Regions from separate parts of the Homo sapiens genome. Here all the other regions are linked to region 1. The links are contacts of gene promoters, found by promoter capture Hi-C in blood cells and fetal thymus (Javierre and others, 2016). All regions are on one chromosome and are shown on one strand. The core of a region is centred on a gene start or on the middle of the fragment in contact, and the rest is flanking DNA. Distances in the headings are between cores, read along the strand shown.

Region 1 (2,714 bases), core at 56-2,555:
TCCCTTTGTTTAAAGTTCTATTCATGGTCACTATAATAACACGAGGCTCTATTGTGGGGTTATGCATAAACTCACACTACCTTATGTGATCTTATGTTAATGCTTTCCTTTTAGTATCTTCTTGTAGCTTGGTAATATTTAAAATTTGTTGATACTCTCTTTGGTTGTGTTCATTATCTTCATTTAGGGAGATGTTGGGGAAGATTTTGTTACTAAAAGCTGTTACATATTAAGGTTTTGTTTTAAAAGGACTTTGAAAAAAAAACTCTTAAGGTTTTCCTTGCTACTATTTAATGAAATTTCACTGCATTGTGTCTTTTGATAGCCATTTTTAAGAGAGCATTTAATTTACTAGATAAGGATTCAGTTTGACCTAATTTGATAGAATATTGCTGTGTTTTTTGTAAAGGGCTACAGATTTTTTTTTAAGTTTAATTTCTTAAGGAATCCTTTAAACACATCTTCTTCTTATTTGCCTTTTCCCTCTGATGTCTATTACCCAGAATTACTCCAAGCTACATATTTAGCTGCATAAAGCAGTGACAGCTTGTCTTCTAAACAATGACAAATTTTAAAATCAGATATTAAGAAACCTTTTCATAGTTTCAAGGGCAGTGAGCTGTATGAACTTGCTTATCAGGTATTAGTGCCTCCAGGGCTATAAAAAGGTAACACATTTAAATGACTATCATACACAAGATATTGACATACCTTCCTTGGTCAGGCCATTTATGTGAAGAGGATTATGCCCACTGAAAATACTTTTGGCACGCCATCACTTCAGCAAAAAAGATGCTATCGAACATGCGCACATCCCCCAACAGTCTGCCTCCTGCGATTGCTTTTCACAGTATCCAAAGTGTCCATCTGTCTGCTTGTCTTCGAGTTACCCTCCTTGTTCATATGGGTCCTAGTCTTCTGAAATTTTCCCTTTCTTTCATTTTCTCTCTTTCGTTAAACAAAAGAGCTGTAGTTGCCCGTTCTGCTTGTAGCACTGTTGACTCTTCCCGACAGTTGATGCATTGAAGCTTTTTACATCTGCTATTTTCCTGGCTGGACAATGCAGTGCTGTGTTCTCGTCTCAGTATCCATATTTCTACTAATAACACTGAGCTGCAATGTAAAGCAGCCAGAGCTAAAATGTAGTGCTTCAGTTGTATTGGAAAAGAATAGGATTTACCTCTCTTCTTTCGTTGTTGCCTGGCAGCTGCAGGAAGGATTTTGAGCAGTTTTAATGGGGTTTTAGTCTATAATATGAAATCCACGGTTCCTCAGCTGCTGCACAGGCAGGCAGCAGTTTAAATGTGGGCTTGACAGATGCTCTCTCTGACAGAGCAGAATTTAACGTCACTGCTTGGCTGAATCCCACGTGATTGTTTGCATTCATTTTGACTAAAAACCTAAGGTAGGGAGAAGCTTAGAGATTTTGCTTTTATGTGATAAATTATATATGTTGAATGCAAGTGTAGTGATGAGTGAATAATTTGAAAATGTGATGATTATGAAATGGTTATGATTTTATTTTTTCCAGCTTACTTCCTTTTTTAACTTTATTCTTAAGTACAGGCTTTCTAAGTGTTTTCTGTGTTAGATGTTGGTTTTCATGTTTCTTACATGCTTTTGTAGGGTGTAAGCAGTATAAGCTTTTGTGTGTAAGTTGGTGTAATTTAACCCCTTCAGTGCATTCTCTTCTTGAAGTTTTTTTTCTCTGCTTTCAAATTGCTCTTGATTTTTTACTAATATGTAGTTAAGACCTATGGTTTCTATTGAAACCATGTATCTTTGTAATTTAGATCCCCCCCCCCGTTTTCTGGGGTTTGTATAAATAAGCTGTCTTGGATTACTTTACTAATGCATGATGTGATACAGCCCACTTCTTTTTTGCTCTTATGTGGTTTTTGGTGTTCTTGATGGCAGAAAACTTTATTTTAAATCACTTTTTAATGTTGTCATTTATTTTTTATTTATTTTTCCTTCCCTTTAAAATTACATGTATCGTAGAATTCAGTAAAATGATGTAATAGATATAGCACACTTGTACAGGATCTGGGGGTAATGAGATTTTACTAATTATGTTTACTTATTCTAATGTTTCAGAAAGATTTAATAACTTGCCATGAGGCAGATTTTATTAACACTACACACTCACTGAGATTTTTCTAATATGGTTAGTTTCTGGGGCTGGCACCTTCTTTTCTTACTGCAGAGCAGTAGGGAAGGTTTTTTTAAATTTTTTGTTGTAGTAAAAAGCCTTTATTATCAGTTTTTCCTCTGTGACTCTAGGGACAGTAATTCAGTCCTAGAAAGTTATAGTTTTGGAGCTTAAGCTAAAGGTTAACAGTTATATACATATTCTTCATCTCACTGCCTCCACCATTAATATATGCTATTTCAAATGAATATGAATTTGTTTTCTCTGATATTAAAAAAAATTTTGTCCACATATTTTTGAGCTTTGCTGATGAAATGTGCTTTGTAGTTTTAAGAACCCCACTGTATTAGAAATGTTAGAAGGATCGTTAAAGAAAAAAAAGAATTTTATAAATAGGAAACCTAAAGCCTAGACTGAGCTTTGACTTTTCCTAGTTAAGTTTGAAGGAGAGGACTAAAACCCAACTTCCTTGTAGTCTATATCCACCCATACTGCAATTCTCACTCACTACCGTTTTGTTTTTAAAATTAGTTTACTAGTTAACAGAGTAATGCTTAAGAAC
Region 2 (2,714 bases), core at 94-2,593, 1.2 Mb after region 1:
ATTTCTATATATAAAATACTTTAAATGTGTTATTCTACCATCAAATTAAAAAAGTTAATATTTTGTAATCAAAATTGCTTTAATAAATTAAAAAAATTCTAAAATTACATATTTAAAATCATCTAAAGAAAAGTTTTAAAAGACTTTCAATAATCACCAGTCTTAGAAATACATTAGTAAGTTTTTCAACATACTTGTGTCTTTGAGAAAGTGGGTTGTTATAGAAATTTCAATAGTATTATATACTTTAAAATTATTATAGGAAAATGTAAAGTCCTTGCAATGCACTAATATATTAAAGACTATTATTAAGTAAATCTGCACACAGTATTTATTATAACTCTCGCTAGCAAACATAGTTTAAAAATGAGTTGTTCTTTGGAAATAAATACTCTGAAATACATCCACCAGGACACCAATATTGCCTACTTTATTTTAATCATGAATATCACATAAAAATGTCTACAAAGTATTTAAAATAATGTATTGGATCAAAATATATATGCATACCAATTACTAGCAATAAGATTGTCACCTCTGTGAATGGTCTGCATTAAACAGTCATTTGTATATTCTGTTTGTTTTTTTCTTTGATTTTCACTTCATTGATGACTGGTGTGTTAATAAATTTTGCATTGCTGTAAAGGAATACTGAGGCTGGCTAATTTATAAAGAAAACAGGTTTATTTGGCTCACAGTTCTGCAGACTGTACAACAAGCATAGTGCCAGCATCTGCTTCTGGTGAGGCCTCAAAAAGCTTTTACTGATGGTGCAAGGTGAAGGGGTGACAGGTGTGTCACATGGCAAGAGAAGGAGCAAGAGAGAAGAGGGGGTGTACAGCTCCTTTAAACTATCATCTCTCTCACCATCTAACACAGTGAAAACTTGCTTATTACCAAGGGGATGGCCCCAAGCCATTTAGGGGAAATCTGTTCCCATGACCCAAACACCTCCCACTAGGCCCCACCTTCGATATTGGGGATCAAATCTCCACACCCATGAGATATGGAGGGGACAAATATCCAAACCATATCACTTGGTAAAATTAAAAACATTTTTATATGTTTTTTGACAATATATGTTCCCTTTCTTTCAAATTCCTATTTATGTGTTTTGCTTCCGTATCTCTTGTGAATTTTTGTCTATTTCCAAATTGTAATTTATCATCTTATTTTTTCCACTGGATTATAATTTTGTAATACACCTTTGATAAACAAAAGGTTTTACTCTTAATGTGGCAAACATATAAATAACGTGTCCACTGTTTCGTAAAGAGAAAGAGAAGATTGCCATTATCAAGTCTTGGAAAATGTTGTAAATTGATATTTGATATAGCCATTTGGGAAATCCTTTTGAGAAAATATTTAAAAATTTGATCTTCTAATACCCTAAAGCCCTTAACATCCAAGATGATGTTCAAAATCAACTCTTACACATTTATACTGGGAAACATCTACAAGAATGTGTACAAAAATCCTGTTCAAAATCACAATGTTGTATATCCCCTCAAAAAATATATTACAGCTCTAAAAATTAATTAGCTGGAGCTACACACAAAACATGGATGAATCTTAGCAACATATTATTGAGCGAAAATCATTAGCACAATACGATTTTTAAAGGTTTTAAAGTAAAGATGACCAAGGACAGTCCCTAACTGATGATGCTGAATTTAGGATTTTTTTTACTTTATAATGTTTCAAACCCATCACAATTTCAACATAATGTATGGTATTCAAATAATTACAAAAGATATTCAACACCTTATTTTAAAATAATCTTGGTGTTAGATGATAGGCTAATGTAAATGTTCTGAGAACATATAAGGTAAAATGGGAAAGAGCAAGAATTTACAATTGCAAGTTTTCTAAAGCAAATGCTCTGAGGAAGGAATGTCAGTGGCCTATAGTCAAGATCAAACTTATCTGAAGCTTTCTAAAGCTAAAGCAATATGATATAACTATTATATTAAGATATACATAAGTGCAATAAAAGATGAGAGTTCCATGAACTAATGACAACAATGAATCATAAACCATGGATTATAATTATTATGTAATATATTATATATTACTATTTTATGCACTTGAGATGCACAAAAATACATACAAGAGGATTTTAATATATTTATATAAGTCACTTTACTTATCTATTCAAATTAGATAAAAAAATTGCATTTGTCAAATAACTTATGGGCATTTTTTAAAGTAAAGGAAAAGTTGTGTATAATTGCTAGACTATTAAAAATTTTGAAGGAAATCTGTTATACACCCAACAATGATAGAGGAAAATGCCACTTTATATGTAATTTCATTATAGTTGAAAGAAACCTTTATACATAGACATTGTAGAAACAAATTTGTCGTAAGGATCTGAGTAAGTCACAATTTATAAAATATAACTCCTCATTGATTTTAGCAATATTTATCTCCCCGAGAGTGTTCTTAAATACAGCTATATATATTGTTTTCCTAATAGTCTTTACTTGTGATATCCCTCTTATACACAAATACTCGGCTACCTCCTGAATCTAGGAATGTGCATTTTGTTTAGCACTGATATTTCATCTTTTAATCAGAGACCTACTTGCTCTTCTTTCTGCCCTAATTGCCATCCATTTAGAGGCTAAATATTGTTTGGGTGGAGTGGAGCTGGAGCCCTCCAACAGACATGACAAAGTAGCTTGCAATTTGCTCCAATTTTCAGTCCTTAT
Region 3 (2,714 bases), core at 88-2,587, 1.1 Mb after region 1:
GAATATATATATGATCATATATATATATGAACAAGTTATCAATATAAAATATCTCATCCTTTCATGTAATATTTATTACTTTTTAAAAATACTTCCTAAAGTATTATAATTCGGATAATTCTGCAAATGAGTTTTCCTGGGACAGTACTGCTTTATATACCCATTCCCATGAATAGTGTTCTGTTCATTTTCAGCCTTGTCATCCCAATTTGGATAATAATCTATGTGGTCCCCAAGTTATAATGCAGAGTAGAGATGTGCCAAGTCAAGTAGAAAAAAAACAAGTTAACTATGACCAATGGTCACCAAAAACTATTAATTTTATATATTTTATAGTTTGGGTTACTTATAATTCATTGAAAGGAACAGTCGTGGGATATAATGATAAGCTAATATGTGAAGCTCATTGAAGGAAAAAGCAGTTGCCCAGAGGAACTAGATAAAGCACAGTACTTTTGACACATATGAGATCAGACTCAAAAATGTCTTACCAACATATCCTTGCGGTGACTGATGCTACCATATTAGCAACTGGGCAAGGATTCTTCAAACTGAGAGAAGGAAATGCCAACTAGGATTATTTCATCTTTCTCCCATTAGTGTTTAAACTTAGAACCCTACTTTCATCCAGAAGTTGGTCTACCCTGTCTTACTCTGGTTCTTTACTGTCAGCAATGACAGAATGCAGGCAGTTCCAAATGCAACATGGTAAAACATATCAGATATTATGCACCAGAAATGTATAGAAATCATCATCAGCAAATGCCTCAAGGATCACAGTTCAATTAGAAACTAAAGGAGTGTGACTATCAAAAGAAGTGTTCCCATAGAAAGAATGGCTCTCTGAATTGTACACATGTGTATATATTTTGCACTAGCAACATAAATTTGCCTTTTACATCTCAATTGACTTTTTAAAAATAAATGGATAAATATATTTTCTGTATTTGTACACACCCATTTTAAAACCAATTTACATAAGATATTATGTTCAATGATTCATAAAATGCTGATACATACCATTTGTTTATGCATTTATAGTGATATTGATTGTATTGCTTTGCATTTATCAATTATTGATAATTCATTCTTATATTTATGAAAATTTTATATTCAATTGTAAAGTCAACTATTAAAACAGCTTCATTCAAAATATTGTTTTGTTAGTGAGTATTTAGGAAGAAATATATTGCATGGCCTTTATTTCCTAGTACCTTAATTAAATAGATACGTTTCAATTAAGGTAATGCGACACTTAATTACTGCACGTGTCATAAAAGCTATGTAGAAAATAACAAGTAGATTTCTTAGTTTAAATGCCATTCCTTATTTTATAAACCATATATGACCTTTTATGTTTTCTCCTTTCTGATAACCATGGAAATATGTTAAAACAAAACAGAAATAGAATCCTGACAAGAAAAAAACAATTATCCAATGGAAGAATATGCCAATTGCTCACCTTCTGAATTTAATTTTGTGAACACTCGGTATTATACTGCTCTCAGTGTGACTTTAGGTGCTTGTGAAGAGCCAATAAAAATGTTATATTGTAAGCCATTGAGACTGAAACTCTAATCTGATTATACTGTCTACAGATCTTTAAAAGTTAGTATGAAAGACATCCAAATCTAATAAAATGTAATCTAAGCAGGAATTATTGAGTTTCCCAAATCCATTAAGAAACTAATGGTCATGGATTGTGAACTAAGGCAAATTTAGTAATCTAATGTTGCTTTTAAAATGAGCTAGTTTAGTGCTATCTTCAAAGATATCTCTTTAGATGTTAACTAAAAAAGCTACAATAGTAAGCATCATTACATTGAAAGAGTACTACAAGATTACTAAATCTTGGATCTTTGATTTAAAAAGAGACAATTGTAAACATACAGAGGCTGTCCTCAATGACACACACAAGACTAACTACAGTGGAACAGACTGCGTATTTGGTGTGAACCCACAAAGGAGGGTAAGACAAAAACAAAGAATGTCAAATTTCCATAAATACCCATAAAGTATATTATTAAATTGAACACTATTGGGCAGCATCTTAAATCGTGACAATGCTGAAGTCTCATTTTTGCATCTTTGTCATGAGGAAGTGGTAGTGAAGATGAAAGTTTTTTTGTGGATATCTAACCAACAACATGTATTGATTACAGTTGTAGGCTGAAAAGCAAGAAGTTAAGCCTAATTATTCAAATTACTGTAAGAGGATGGCAGTATAACTCAATAGGGAGAAGAAAAGTCGCAGTATGAAGCAGCTGGTGCTCATTTTTTTTAACTAATGGTATGATTGTCAGAGTGTGAAATAACTGAAAACAATGAAAACAGCTTGAAAAGTGTGCATGTTTGTATGTTCAAGTGTAACATATGGAAACAGCAAAAAGTAATTATAAGAGATTCTGGTATTAGTGGGAATTGTTGTTGTAAGGTTTGCTTTCATAGCAAGTTAACTATGTAGTGTTTTAAAAACTGATGAAAGCATGTTATTTTCCTTCAACTACACATCAAATTTGATGCTAGGTAGAACACAGTTGTCTGACATAAAAATCAGTCATATAGATCATGGGTACATAGTTATGTCTATTATGCATATGTTACATAGGAGCAGGATTGCTCCCTGCCCCCAACTCCTCCCTGACTTTACAGTGTGAAATATACACATCAGAATTTGCTTATTGGTTTCCCATGGGATATATTAGGTTAACAAG
Region 4 (2,714 bases), core at 150-2,649, 1.1 Mb after region 1:
CAATTCCATTTAAAAAATTACATGTCATAGGCCACGCGCGGTGGCTCACCCCTGTAATCCCAGCACTTTGGGAGGCCGAGGCGGGCAGATCACAAGGTCAGGAGATCTAGACCATCCTGGCTAACACGGTGAAACCCCGTCTCTACTAAAAATACAAAAAATTAGCCAGGCGCCTATAGTCCCAGCTACTTGGGAGGCTGAGGCAGGAGAATGGTGTGAACCCAGGAGGCGGAGCTTGCAGTGAGCCGAGATAGCGCCACTGCACTCGGGCCTGGGCAAAAGGGCGAGACTCCGTCTCAAAAAAAAAAAAAAAAAAAAAAAAAAATTACATGTCATAGCAATGGGCAAAAATAAATGGTGGTGCTAATTATGGTGATCATGATGATAATAACAAAGATTAGAAAAGAAACAAAGAAATAGTTTCAGAGGAGTAATAGGTTATGAGGATTTGAGACCTAAATTATAATATGAGATTAATTAATATTTTCAACCAAATAAAGATGAATTGGAATTTTTCGTCAGAGAACTGAACTTTATAAAATGAGTTATGAGAAAATTAAAAGAATAGAAAATATGCTATATGTAAAATTAAGAATTAAAGGGCTGTACTGAAAAACACATGAGAAACAGCAAAAGACAAGATTGGAGATCTGAACAGTAAAACAAATGAAAATATTTAGAGAGAATACAGAAAGAACAGAGATACCATGAATAGGTCTAATATATGTGCAAATGCAGTCCCATTAGAAATGAAAAAAAATTAGACAGGATAATTATTTGAATAAGTAATAGCTAACGATTTCCAAAAACTGATTACTGATATGAAGTCACAGATTTATGGAGATATATATAGATATATATATATAAAGTCAGGCCTTCCATAAATATATATACACGCAAAAACTATATATGATATATATATCAATATCATATAGATATTATATATCTATATATAATATAAACATATAATCTATAGTATATAATAACACATAACACATTATAGTAAAGTATCTAAAATGTTGAATAGAAAGAGAAAATTTATAACCACCATCTGATTCAATGCTATTCCTATCAAACTACCAATGATGTTTTCATAGAATTAGAAGAAACTATTCTAAAATTCGTATGGAACCAAAAAAAAAAAAAAAAGCCTGAATAGCCAAAGCAATCGTATGCAAACAGTACAAAGCCAGAGGCATCACACTACCCAACTTCAAGCTATACAACAAGGCTACAGTAATCAAAACAGCATAGTACTGGTACAAAAATAGACACATAGACAAATGGATCATGGTGGAGAGCCTAGAAATAAAGCCACACACCTACAACCATCTGATATTTGACAGAAACAAGCAACAGGGAAAGGAATCGCTAGTCAATAAATAGTGCTTGCATAACTTTCTAGCCATAAGCAAAAGATTGAAACTGGACCTTTTCCTTTTATCATAAACTAAAATCAATTCGAAATGGATTAGAGATTTAAATGTAAAAGCCAGAACTATAAAAACCTGGAAATAACTAGGAAATACCATTCTGGAAATAGGCACTGGGAAATATTTTGTTATAAAGACTCCAAAAGCAATTGCAACAAAAACAAAAATTAACAAGTGGGACTTAATTAAACTGAAGAGCTTCTGCACAGCAAAGGAAACTTTTAACAGAGTAAAGAGATGACCTATGAAATGGAAGAAAATATTTGCAAACTATGCATCTGACAAGGGCCTACTATCCAGAATCCATAAAGAACTTAAACAATTTAACAATAAAAAAAAACCATTAAAAAATGGGCAAAAAATGTGAATGGACACTTCTCAAGAGAAGACATACACGTAGCCAGCACGCATGTAAAAAAAAAAAAATGTTCAATATCACTAATCACTAGAGAAATGCAAATCAAAACCACAATGAGATACCATCTCACACCAGTCAGAATGGCTATTATTAAAAAGTCAAAAATTAACAGATGTTGGCAAGGTTTTGGAGAAAAGGTAATGCTTATACAGCGCTGGTGAGAATGTAAATTAGTTCAGTCACCGTGGAAAGCATTTTCGAGGTTTCTCAAAGAACTTAAAACAGAACTACCATCCAACCGAGCAATCCCATTTCTGGGTATATACCCAGAGGAATAGAAATCATTCTACCATAAAGACATATGAATGTGTGTATTCATCATGGCACTATTCGCAATAACAAAGACATGGAATCAACCTAGATGCCCATCAACAGTGGACTGGATGAAGAAAATATGAAACACAGGAATAGAAAACCAAATGTCACATGTTCTTACTTATAATTGGAGGTAAACATTGAACACATTTGAACACAAAGAAGGGAACAATAGACACCAGGCCCTTCTTGAAGGTGGAGGGTGGGAGAAGGGAGACATCAAAAAACTACCTACAGGGTACTATGCTCATTAACTGGGTGACCAAATAATCTGTACACCAAACCCCCACAACACACAATTTATCTATGTGACAAACCTGCCCATGTACCCTCTGCACCTACAATAAAGGTTGGAAAGAAAAATTTTTTAAATAAAAATAAAACCACTGTAGTAATTCGTTGTGACTGCCATAACAAAACACATAGACTGGGTAGCTCAACAACAGAAATTTATGTTCTCAGTTCTTGTGGGTAAGGAAATCCGAGACAAAGGTGCTGGACAATTTGGGTCCTGGTAAGAACTCTTTTCCTGGCTTCCAGGTGGCTGC
Region 5 (2,714 bases), core at 71-2,570, 1.1 Mb after region 1:
AACACCTTGACTGACACAATCTCAGGGCAACATCATTGAACGATAGCCAAAATATACTTCATTAGGCCCAGGAGGCTACCACCAGGATGATCAGGCCTGCCTGTAGCTGCAATCTAGCCCAAGGTCCTAGTGATATAAGTAAGATTTCTAAGGAGGTCAAAGAAGGATCCTTCAGCTAGCCCCACTGTCTGCAACTCGTGGACATACTTCCAGATCTCCTTTGTTTGTATTTCTATAATCACTGAGGTGTTTATCCAGATACAGCAGGAGGTGTTGGCAATTGCACACACTACCCCAAATTAGGCAAAAAGAAAACCTAGAGCAATTATGTTGTCTAAAACAACTTTCCCAAGGGAGTTAGGTAATGTCTACCAGCTACCACAGCAGTGGCTGTTGAGGAAACAATATCTGTGTTGGTCAGGAAGAGGTTTCTTATTAATTTTTTATGAGCACTGACTCCCATATACGGTACCAAAGATTACATAAGGAACATAAATTCAGACTCAGTTATACCTCCTGGCAGGTCCCTAGTAAGACTAGTGCATAACTTTAGGTTTCTGGTCCATTGGTGCCTCTACTGCCATGTTTTCATGAAAAAAGCAGGACAGGTTATTGTCCCACCTTCAACCCCTCCATGGGTCTTAGATGTCCCCTATCTGTGTAAAAGTATCAAGATCATATCAAGTATCTTTTCTGAGCAAAATAGAATGAAACTAGAAACCAACAGCAGTAATTAACTAGAAAATTCGACAACTAACAAACACTCTTGAACAACCATTGTGTTAAAGAGGAAACGGAAAGGAATTATTTTTCAATCTTAAAATAAATAAAAACAAAAACATAACATACCAAAACATATGGGACACTGCAAAAGCAGAACTTCAAGAAAATTATATAGTGAAAAATACATATTAAAAAAGAAGAAAGAGTTCAAATAAACAAACTGACATTACAAGTTAAGGAAATATAGAGAAGAACAAACTTACTCCAAAGTTAGCATAAGAAAGAAAATTGAAAATATTAGAGCAAAAAATCATTAAAACAGAGAATAGAAAAACAATACAAAAAAACCCAACAAAATTAAAAGTTGGTGTTTTGAAAGGTTAATTGGCAAACTCTTTGTTAGACTACCTACAAAAAAAAAAAAATGTAAAGTGACGGAAAAGGAGAAATAGAAGACTCAAAATCAGAAATGGAAGAGGAGATATTTCAATGCATTCCTCAAAAATAAAAGGATTATAAGGAATTATTATGAATAACTATATGTCAACAAATAGGATAACCTAGAATAAATTGATAAATTCCTAGAAACATACACTCTAGCAAGGCTGAATCAAGAAGAAATAGAGGCCAGGCATGGTGGCTCATGCCTGTAATCCCAGCACTTTGGGAGGCCGACGCAGGTGGATCACCAGATCAGGAGATTGAGACCATCCTGGCTAACATGGTGAAACCCCGTCTCTACTAAAAATACAAAACATTAGCCAGGCGTGGTGGTGGGTGCCTGTAGTCCCAGCTACTCGGGAGGCTGAGGCAGGAGAATGGCATGAACCTGGGAGGCGGAGCTTGCAGTGAGCCGAGAACTCGCCACTGCACTCCAGCCTGGGTGACAGATCAAGACTCCATCTCAAATAAACAAACAAACAAACAAATAAATAAATAAATAAATAAATAAATAAATAAGAAATAGAGATCCTGAACAGACCAATAAGAAATAAGCCATTTGGATCAGTAATCCAAAACCTCTCAACAAAGAAAGGCCCAGGACCAGATAGCTTCACTGCTAAATTCTATCAAACATTCAAGAATACCAATACTGTGATGGCTGATACTGTCAACTTGATTGGATTGAAGGATGCAAATTATTGATCCTGGGTATGTCTGTGAGGATGTTGCCAAAGGAGATTAACATTTGAGTCAGTGGGCTGGGAAAGGCAGACCCACCCTTAATCTGGGTGGGCACCATCTGATCAGCTGCCCGTGCAGCCAGGACATAAAGCAAGCGGAAAAACGTGAAAAGGCTAGACTGGCTTAGCTTCTCAGCCTACATCTTTATCCTGTGCTGAATGCTTCCTGCTCTTGAATATCAGACTACAGGTCTTCAGCTTTGGGATTCAGACTGGCTTTCTTTCTCCTTAGCTTGCAAATGGTCTATTGTGGGACCTTGTGATTGTGTGAGTTACTACTACTTAATAAGCTCCCCTTAATAAGTTCCCGTATATATATATCATTAGTTCTGTCACTCTAGATACCACAGATTAAATACTTTTTAAACTCTCCCCAAAAAACAGAACAAAAGGAATACATCCAAACTCTATGAGTCTAGCATCACCCCAATACCAAGGCCAAAGATACCACAAGAATGTAAAATGACAGGTCAATATCCCTGATGAACATACATGCATAAATACATAATAAAATACTTGCAAGTCAAATTCAATAGCATACTAAAAGGCTTATATACCATGACCAACTGGAATTTATCACTGCAATGCAACGGTGGCTCGGTATATACATATCAATCAATGTGATATACTACATTAGCAGAACGAAAGACAAAAGCTATGTGATCATCTCAAAAGATGGAGAAAAGCCATTTGACAACATTCAACACTGAGTCACAATAAAAATTCTCAAAAACAGATACACAAATAACTTACTTCAACACAATAAATGCCATATATGAGAAGCCCACAACCAACATTATAATCCAT
Region 6 (2,714 bases), core at 115-2,614, 1.0 Mb after region 1:
AATGAATTAATTGTAATCACATTAAAAAGTACTGCTATGATAGACTCCTTAGGAAACATGGAAGCATCATATTATCAACTTCAAAAACAACTGAATCTAGATTTTGTAAAATCATCTTGCATGTATTAAGTTTGCCTTCTGCATATTTTAAGGAGGGCTCTGAGTCTAACAAATAGCGTAAATGTTTATTGGTTACTGTTTGAAAATTTTTCAAGAGACTCTAGAATGATACAACATACGAATATAGTCTATTTCACTAAGGATATTAAGATCAAACAGAAAATTCAATATGACAGTGAAGCATATGAGTTTAGTGTATAGACTTAGTGGGTCTGAAACTTAACAGTGCCACGTACTTTATTTGAGACCCTGAACAAGTTACTTAAATTTACTGTGCCTCAATTTCTACAGATATATATATATATTATACTATATAATATATATTAGGATTACATATATCCTACAGTCAGACATCTTTTCTATGCTCTTATAGTATCTTGCAATTTATTATAATAACAAGAAAAAATATTTTTGTTCATTATATATATTTACCTATACTTTATTGCTCTATGATTGCAGCAGTCATCCTTTTATGTTCATAGCTGTACTTCTTTGCCAAATACATGGCTATTACTTAGTGAGTATTAAGTAGTATCTTCCCATAATTAAAATTATGTATAAATGTATATTTGAATGCAAATTAAACTCTTTTATTAAACTAAATCCTTCCTAGACTGGTGGTCTCTAACACCACAAAAATGTAGTTCCCAGATAAATAACCTAGGCAACTGCCGAGTCAACTGGGCTAGTCAACTAAATACCTAGACCACCTAAACACCCTGGTCAACTGGAAATGCATATATTTCCAAAAGTAGATTAGAAAAAAATGAGAATAATTAATAATGAACTGAACAATACTAGAGTTTGATTTAGAGACAACAATGTGGAGAAGGAAAAGATTTTCACTACCTTGTTCTTGCTAAATATCTCTCACTTTGGAACTGTGATAACTTGGACAATCTCTCTGATTTGTAGTCCCAATCACAGTCTTAGGCTAGCTTTATTGCTACAATTAAGATAATATGCATAAATATGATACATGAGCTATAAAATGCATCTCATTGCCAACATTCTCATCTCAGTTTTAAGCACAGGGCACAGAAACCTAAAGTGAAAACTCCACACTATATATCATATCAAAACATAACAGAGGCAAGTATTACAAAATTAAATTAATATTTTATACTATTGTATAATATAGAAATAGCTACATATGTATTATATACTACCAGGATTTTCACTTGTGAATGATATATTTACCTCATCATTATAATAATGCTTAACCAAGCAACAGATGTTCATTTTGAGGAAGCTATTATTGTAACATAGATTGTTAAGGTTAGCATAGTGACAAAACCACAAACCGCTTACAGCCACGAGTCCTTCTTCTCCCAGTAGCACTATAGTTTAACTTTATCTTTCTTTGACCTAAATTCAATAAAAGGGGGAAAAAGAATCCCTGTGTCTTTAAAATACTGTTAAACCACCACAGTTCAGTAATTTATTTGGCTTTAGCCTTTGCAAGCTAACTGTCTGTAGTTGCAACTTTACAGATTTTATGTATTCAGTTTGAAAAAAAAAAAAAGGCTTTTTTTTCCCCCAAAAGAAGCTAGCTGTTAACAGAAAGAAGAGAAAAACAAGATTTATCTTATCCAGCTCCATCCAAAACAAGGTGCTATGCTTTCTGTGACTTCAATTTGACAAGTAAAGCCCTGGGCAGGCATGTAGTATCACTGCTTGTCACTATAAGGCAACAGACTGGAAAAGACATGAGATAGTGTAGAAATAAGCAAGTGTAGCAGGTAACTAATTAAGATTAGGAGTGCACGCTGGAAGATTTTCTAAATCCAAGACACCCAATCCTTCCATATCTACTGTAATACAAAACATATACAGCTGGCATGCAACAAGCTCATCTTGGAAAATGTATGCTTTTTGCTTTGTAAAATTTAAAGTAAAAATGGTAGATGAAATGAAAATCTGCAAGTGAGGCAAAATCTGTGTTGACTGCCTTTGTTGTAGAAGTTTGTCTCATTCTGAAATAAATCTTGATTTATTCCAAATTAGGAGATTTAAGTATTTCAATTTCCAATTTAAAAATAATTCCTTCTCTTTGTCTCTGGCAGTATATAATATGTATGTGTATAAACATATATTCACCTTAAAATTTAATATGTGAATACCAAAATATTACATAGAATTATGTGTAGTCTTGTTTCGCCACTGTTCATTTTTTCTCATATTTAACTCTCATGAAAATTTCCCTCATTTTTTTGAGTGTTGTTTCTATCATTTTATTTCAGTCATTTCATTCTTTATTTTCTTCTATTTTTCCTTTGCTCTACAGTCATTTGGGGCATTGTTTTCTGTATCAAGATCTTTTTACACAGACTATATTGCATGGGAAGGCGGCATGCAAGAGTAATGATATGCAAGGTGATTTTTAAAATAAAATATGACAACTGTTGAAAAAGCATGTTTTATCTATTTCTCATTGTATTTTCTCTTTTTTGATACTGTATAGAATCATTAGGATAAACCAGTTGGCAATATACTCAGAATGAAGAAAACAGTGCAATCCCTGTCTTCCAGGAAATTATAACAGGTTAGGAAAAAGTCACAAAGTGCTTCACCGCATTTTTTTTTCCTCATGT
Region 7 (2,714 bases), core at 117-2,616, 1.0 Mb after region 1:
TTTGTTATGACAGACAGCACACCAAGGTACTATTTCTATTTCAGATGTGCATTTGTAATTACACACATACACATAACATACACATACCAAAATTTAGTAGCGGAAAACAAGGACAACATTATTGTCTCGTGATTCTATGAGTCAGCAATTTGAGCTGGACTCAATTGGATGTTTCTACTGTTGCGCTCTACAAGAGGCTCTCACATAGCTGCAGTCATGTGGTGGCTTATTTGAAGCTCGATGGCCTGAGGTGGCCACACTTCCATAGTAGGTGGTTAATGTTAGATGTTATCTGAGTAAAATGTCTACAGCTTATTAGCCTGGACTTCTTCACCTGTTGGAAATGTTTTTAGGGCATAAGTAAGTCCCAATGCAAAAAGAGTTTTTTAATATCTATTTTTGTATTACATTTGATTTTGTTCTATTGGACAAAGCTAGTCACATGGTCAAACTCAGGTTCAATGGGGAGGTGACTAGGCAGGACATACATCGATAGATACAGAAAGGGTCATTGGGGCCACTACTCTGACAGCTTTCAGAGTCTGGGAATAAATAGGAATACCCTTTAATGGTAAGATGATGAGTTGAAAATGCTATGGCTCCTAGTGACACCATATAAAATTTCTGGTACCATGCCTGGATTTGTTATTTGTGTCTTTCAATGCAAACTGGACCATCTGATTACCCTCAAGGAGGTCACCTTTGTTACAAATTATTTTTTTCTAGACCACCACCAAATCTGATCTAATTTTTATCCTGATTTCCTATGGGTTTGCATTACTGAGGTCCAGCAATTATATCATTTGATTCCGTGTGAATTTCTAGAGGTACTCTCATTCTTTTGTAGAACACTTTATTCCAAGGATGTCCTGATGTAACTTTCTTCTGTTCCCTCAGGTGCAGAGTGCTTTTTCCACCAAAGAAGAGACATTGTACTCTTTTTGGGGTTATATTAATGACTGTGAGTATCTTCCCCAAAATAATTTATATTCTCTTTAGAAAGAAAGATTTCTGAGCAACTTCATATGATAATAAACCTAATTTAACTTTAAGAATCATATTTTCGAATAAGTAGGCTTGAAAGTATCCTTTCCTATTTCTGCCATGATTTCCTAATAAAAATTCTGAGCTACTGACCTACTTATAAGAATTAACTTGTAACATAAATCAGTCCAATCAATTCATGTCCTCAGTGTATCTCAAACTAAGTCAGAATAAAGGAGCCACTTTTGTCTTTAGTAATGTAGATATTAGAAAATAATCCTTGAAATTCCACTAGTCATATCATCTTCTCCACACTGAGTGATGATGAGAGTTTGAGCACACAGAAAAATAATGAAGATAATATAGAGGAAAGAAAATTCTAATGACTTTGGAGTCATTTGTTCTGTTCAATTCCAGGGGTTACTATTTATTTTTTTCTAGATACATTTTCTAATAATTACACTTTTATATATTTGGAAATGTATTTTTCTCTGTTACTTGCAAAGAACATTGTTCTTGATTAATATAAAAGCCCAATAAAATCATTAATTCCAGGGATAAAGAACTCCACTAGAGAGATTATAGCAAGAAAAGTTTAATTATAATTATATATTACCTAAAACTAATGACATTTTTATGGTATATAAAAGGTTTATGTTTTCACATTGTATGTTCATTCTCATTTCATACCCTTTTTGCAGAATTCACCTCTCTGTCCTCCTCAATGCCATCTGTCTTTTGTTTGGTCTCCCTGATGTTAGTCACGAAGTCTGCTTAGAAGGATTTATGTCTTACTTTGATATAGGTTCTATACTCAATGCTAGGGAACAATCATTGGCAAGATGTGTCTCCTTTACTCAAAGAGGTTTTAATGGTCTATGTTTGGAAAAGAGACATACAGTCATTAGAATGCAATATTGTGAAAGTTGACAAGGGAAATTCTTGGGGTTATGGGAATCTTCAATATCTTTATTGAGAAATACAGATATACACATTTATCAAAACTCATAAAATGATGAATTTGTAGTATTTTATTGTGTATAAATTATGCCTCAATAAAAGTTCATTGTAATGTGCTGAAAGAATAAATGATAAAGAAGCATATGTTTGCTGATGACAGTTTTGCACCAATTCCTTTTTATTTTTACTTTTCCTCCCTTTAGGTTTCTTACTATGGCCTTCAATAAATTGTAACTCCAGGCTTAAATTTGATCAAATATTCTTCTAGTGGGTCATGAGGCTATTGAGTGTCACAACAAAAGATTTCCATTTAATTTTGTAATATGCCTGATAATAAGGAAAAAATATATTAAAAATGAAAACTAGGAAAAGATGTAAAGTCAGTGAGTAATTTTGGGAGATAATACAGGAAATAATTGATAAATAGTAAATTGAGACTGAGGAAATAAGAGTCAGAAAAACTATACAGGTTAAACTTCATTCTATAAGTGTTTAAACTTTAGCTTAGGCAGTCTGCATTTTTGTTTTTCATCTATTTTACAGATAATCCTTTGAAAATTTATCATGATCTTTCCTTTAATAAAATAAGTAGAACTCAGAATAAAATAAAGTAACCCCAAGTTAAAACTACAGCAATTTAACCACCATCTGGAAAAGTGACCCTGTCTATGACCTCCACAGTTACACTTTACTATGCTCCATGCTCTTTGATGTGGAGCTAGAACCTCACACCAAGAAGTGATTTATATGCAGAAAAAATGATATCCACA

Evidence for each region. Contacts are between HindIII fragments. The CHiCAGO score rates a contact against its expected background, and 5 or more counts as called.
Region 2: a contact is called between a fragment that was not itself captured here and the fragment with the promoter of B3GALT2 in region 1, in 2 of 17 cell types (total CD4 T cells and total B cells). The highest score is 6.1, in total CD4 T cells.
Region 3: a contact is called between a fragment that was not itself captured here and the fragment with the promoter of B3GALT2 in region 1, in 9 of 17 cell types (naive CD8 T cells, naive CD4 T cells, naive B cells and 6 more). The highest score is 14.2, in naive CD8 T cells.
Region 4: a contact is called between a fragment that was not itself captured here and the fragment with the promoter of B3GALT2 in region 1, in 10 of 17 cell types (total CD4 T cells, naive CD8 T cells, naive CD4 T cells and 7 more). The highest score is 24.2, in total CD4 T cells.
Region 5: a contact is called between a fragment that was not itself captured here and the fragment with the promoter of B3GALT2 in region 1, in 8 of 17 cell types (naive CD4 T cells, total CD4 T cells, total CD8 T cells and 5 more). The highest score is 10.8, in naive CD4 T cells.
Region 6: a contact is called between a fragment that was not itself captured here and the fragment with the promoter of B3GALT2 in region 1, in 2 of 17 cell types (naive CD8 T cells and naive CD4 T cells). The highest score is 6.0, in naive CD8 T cells.
Region 7: a contact is called between a fragment that was not itself captured here and the fragment with the promoter of B3GALT2 in region 1, in 5 of 17 cell types (naive CD4 T cells, naive B cells, total CD8 T cells and 2 more). The highest score is 7.0, in naive CD4 T cells.

Annotation. Positions count from the first base shown.
Region 1 is chr1:193,185,308-193,188,021 of GRCh38, forward strand. It overlaps B3GALT2 (beta-1,3-galactosyltransferase 2), which reads right to left and starts at 1,306. Exons shown (of 2, transcript NM_003783.3): 1 at 712-1,306. All of the region lies in intron 10 of CDC73 (cell division cycle 73), which reads left to right. The HindIII fragment of the contact is 388 bases long and covers 1,027-1,414 here.
Region 2 is chr1:194,335,655-194,338,368 of GRCh38, forward strand. All of the region lies in intron 2 of LOC107985242 (a long non-coding RNA gene), which reads right to left. Among named protein-coding and RNA genes, the nearest start is that of LINC01031, 1.0 Mb to the left of the region's middle. The HindIII fragment of the contact is 1,174 bases long and covers 757-1,930 here.
Region 3 is chr1:194,317,347-194,320,060 of GRCh38, forward strand. The region is part of intron 2 of LOC107985242 (a long non-coding RNA gene); the gene reads right to left. Among named protein-coding and RNA genes, the nearest start is that of LINC01031, 1.0 Mb to the left of the region's middle. The HindIII fragment of the contact is 2,830 bases long and covers 1-2,714 here.
Region 4 is chr1:194,276,174-194,278,887 of GRCh38, forward strand. The region is part of intron 2 of LOC107985242 (a long non-coding RNA gene); the gene reads right to left. Among named protein-coding and RNA genes, the nearest start is that of LINC01031, 970 kb to the left of the region's middle. The HindIII fragment of the contact is 3,038 bases long and covers 1-2,714 here.
Region 5 is chr1:194,247,061-194,249,774 of GRCh38, forward strand. All of the region lies in intron 2 of LOC107985242 (a long non-coding RNA gene), which reads right to left. Among named protein-coding and RNA genes, the nearest start is that of LINC01031, 940 kb to the left of the region's middle. The HindIII fragment of the contact is 5,601 bases long and covers 1-2,714 here.
Region 6 is chr1:194,224,583-194,227,296 of GRCh38, forward strand. All of the region lies in intron 2 of LOC107985242 (a long non-coding RNA gene), which reads right to left. Among named protein-coding and RNA genes, the nearest start is that of LINC01031, 920 kb to the left of the region's middle. The HindIII fragment of the contact is 8,029 bases long and covers 1-2,714 here.
Region 7 is chr1:194,196,626-194,199,339 of GRCh38, forward strand. LOC124904475 (a long non-coding RNA gene) reads left to right here. Exons shown (of 9, transcript XR_007066777.1): 8 at 898-961. The region is part of intron 2 of LOC107985242 (a long non-coding RNA gene); the gene reads right to left. Among named protein-coding and RNA genes, the nearest start is that of LINC01031, 890 kb to the left of the region's middle. The HindIII fragment of the contact is 3,468 bases long and covers 1-2,714 here.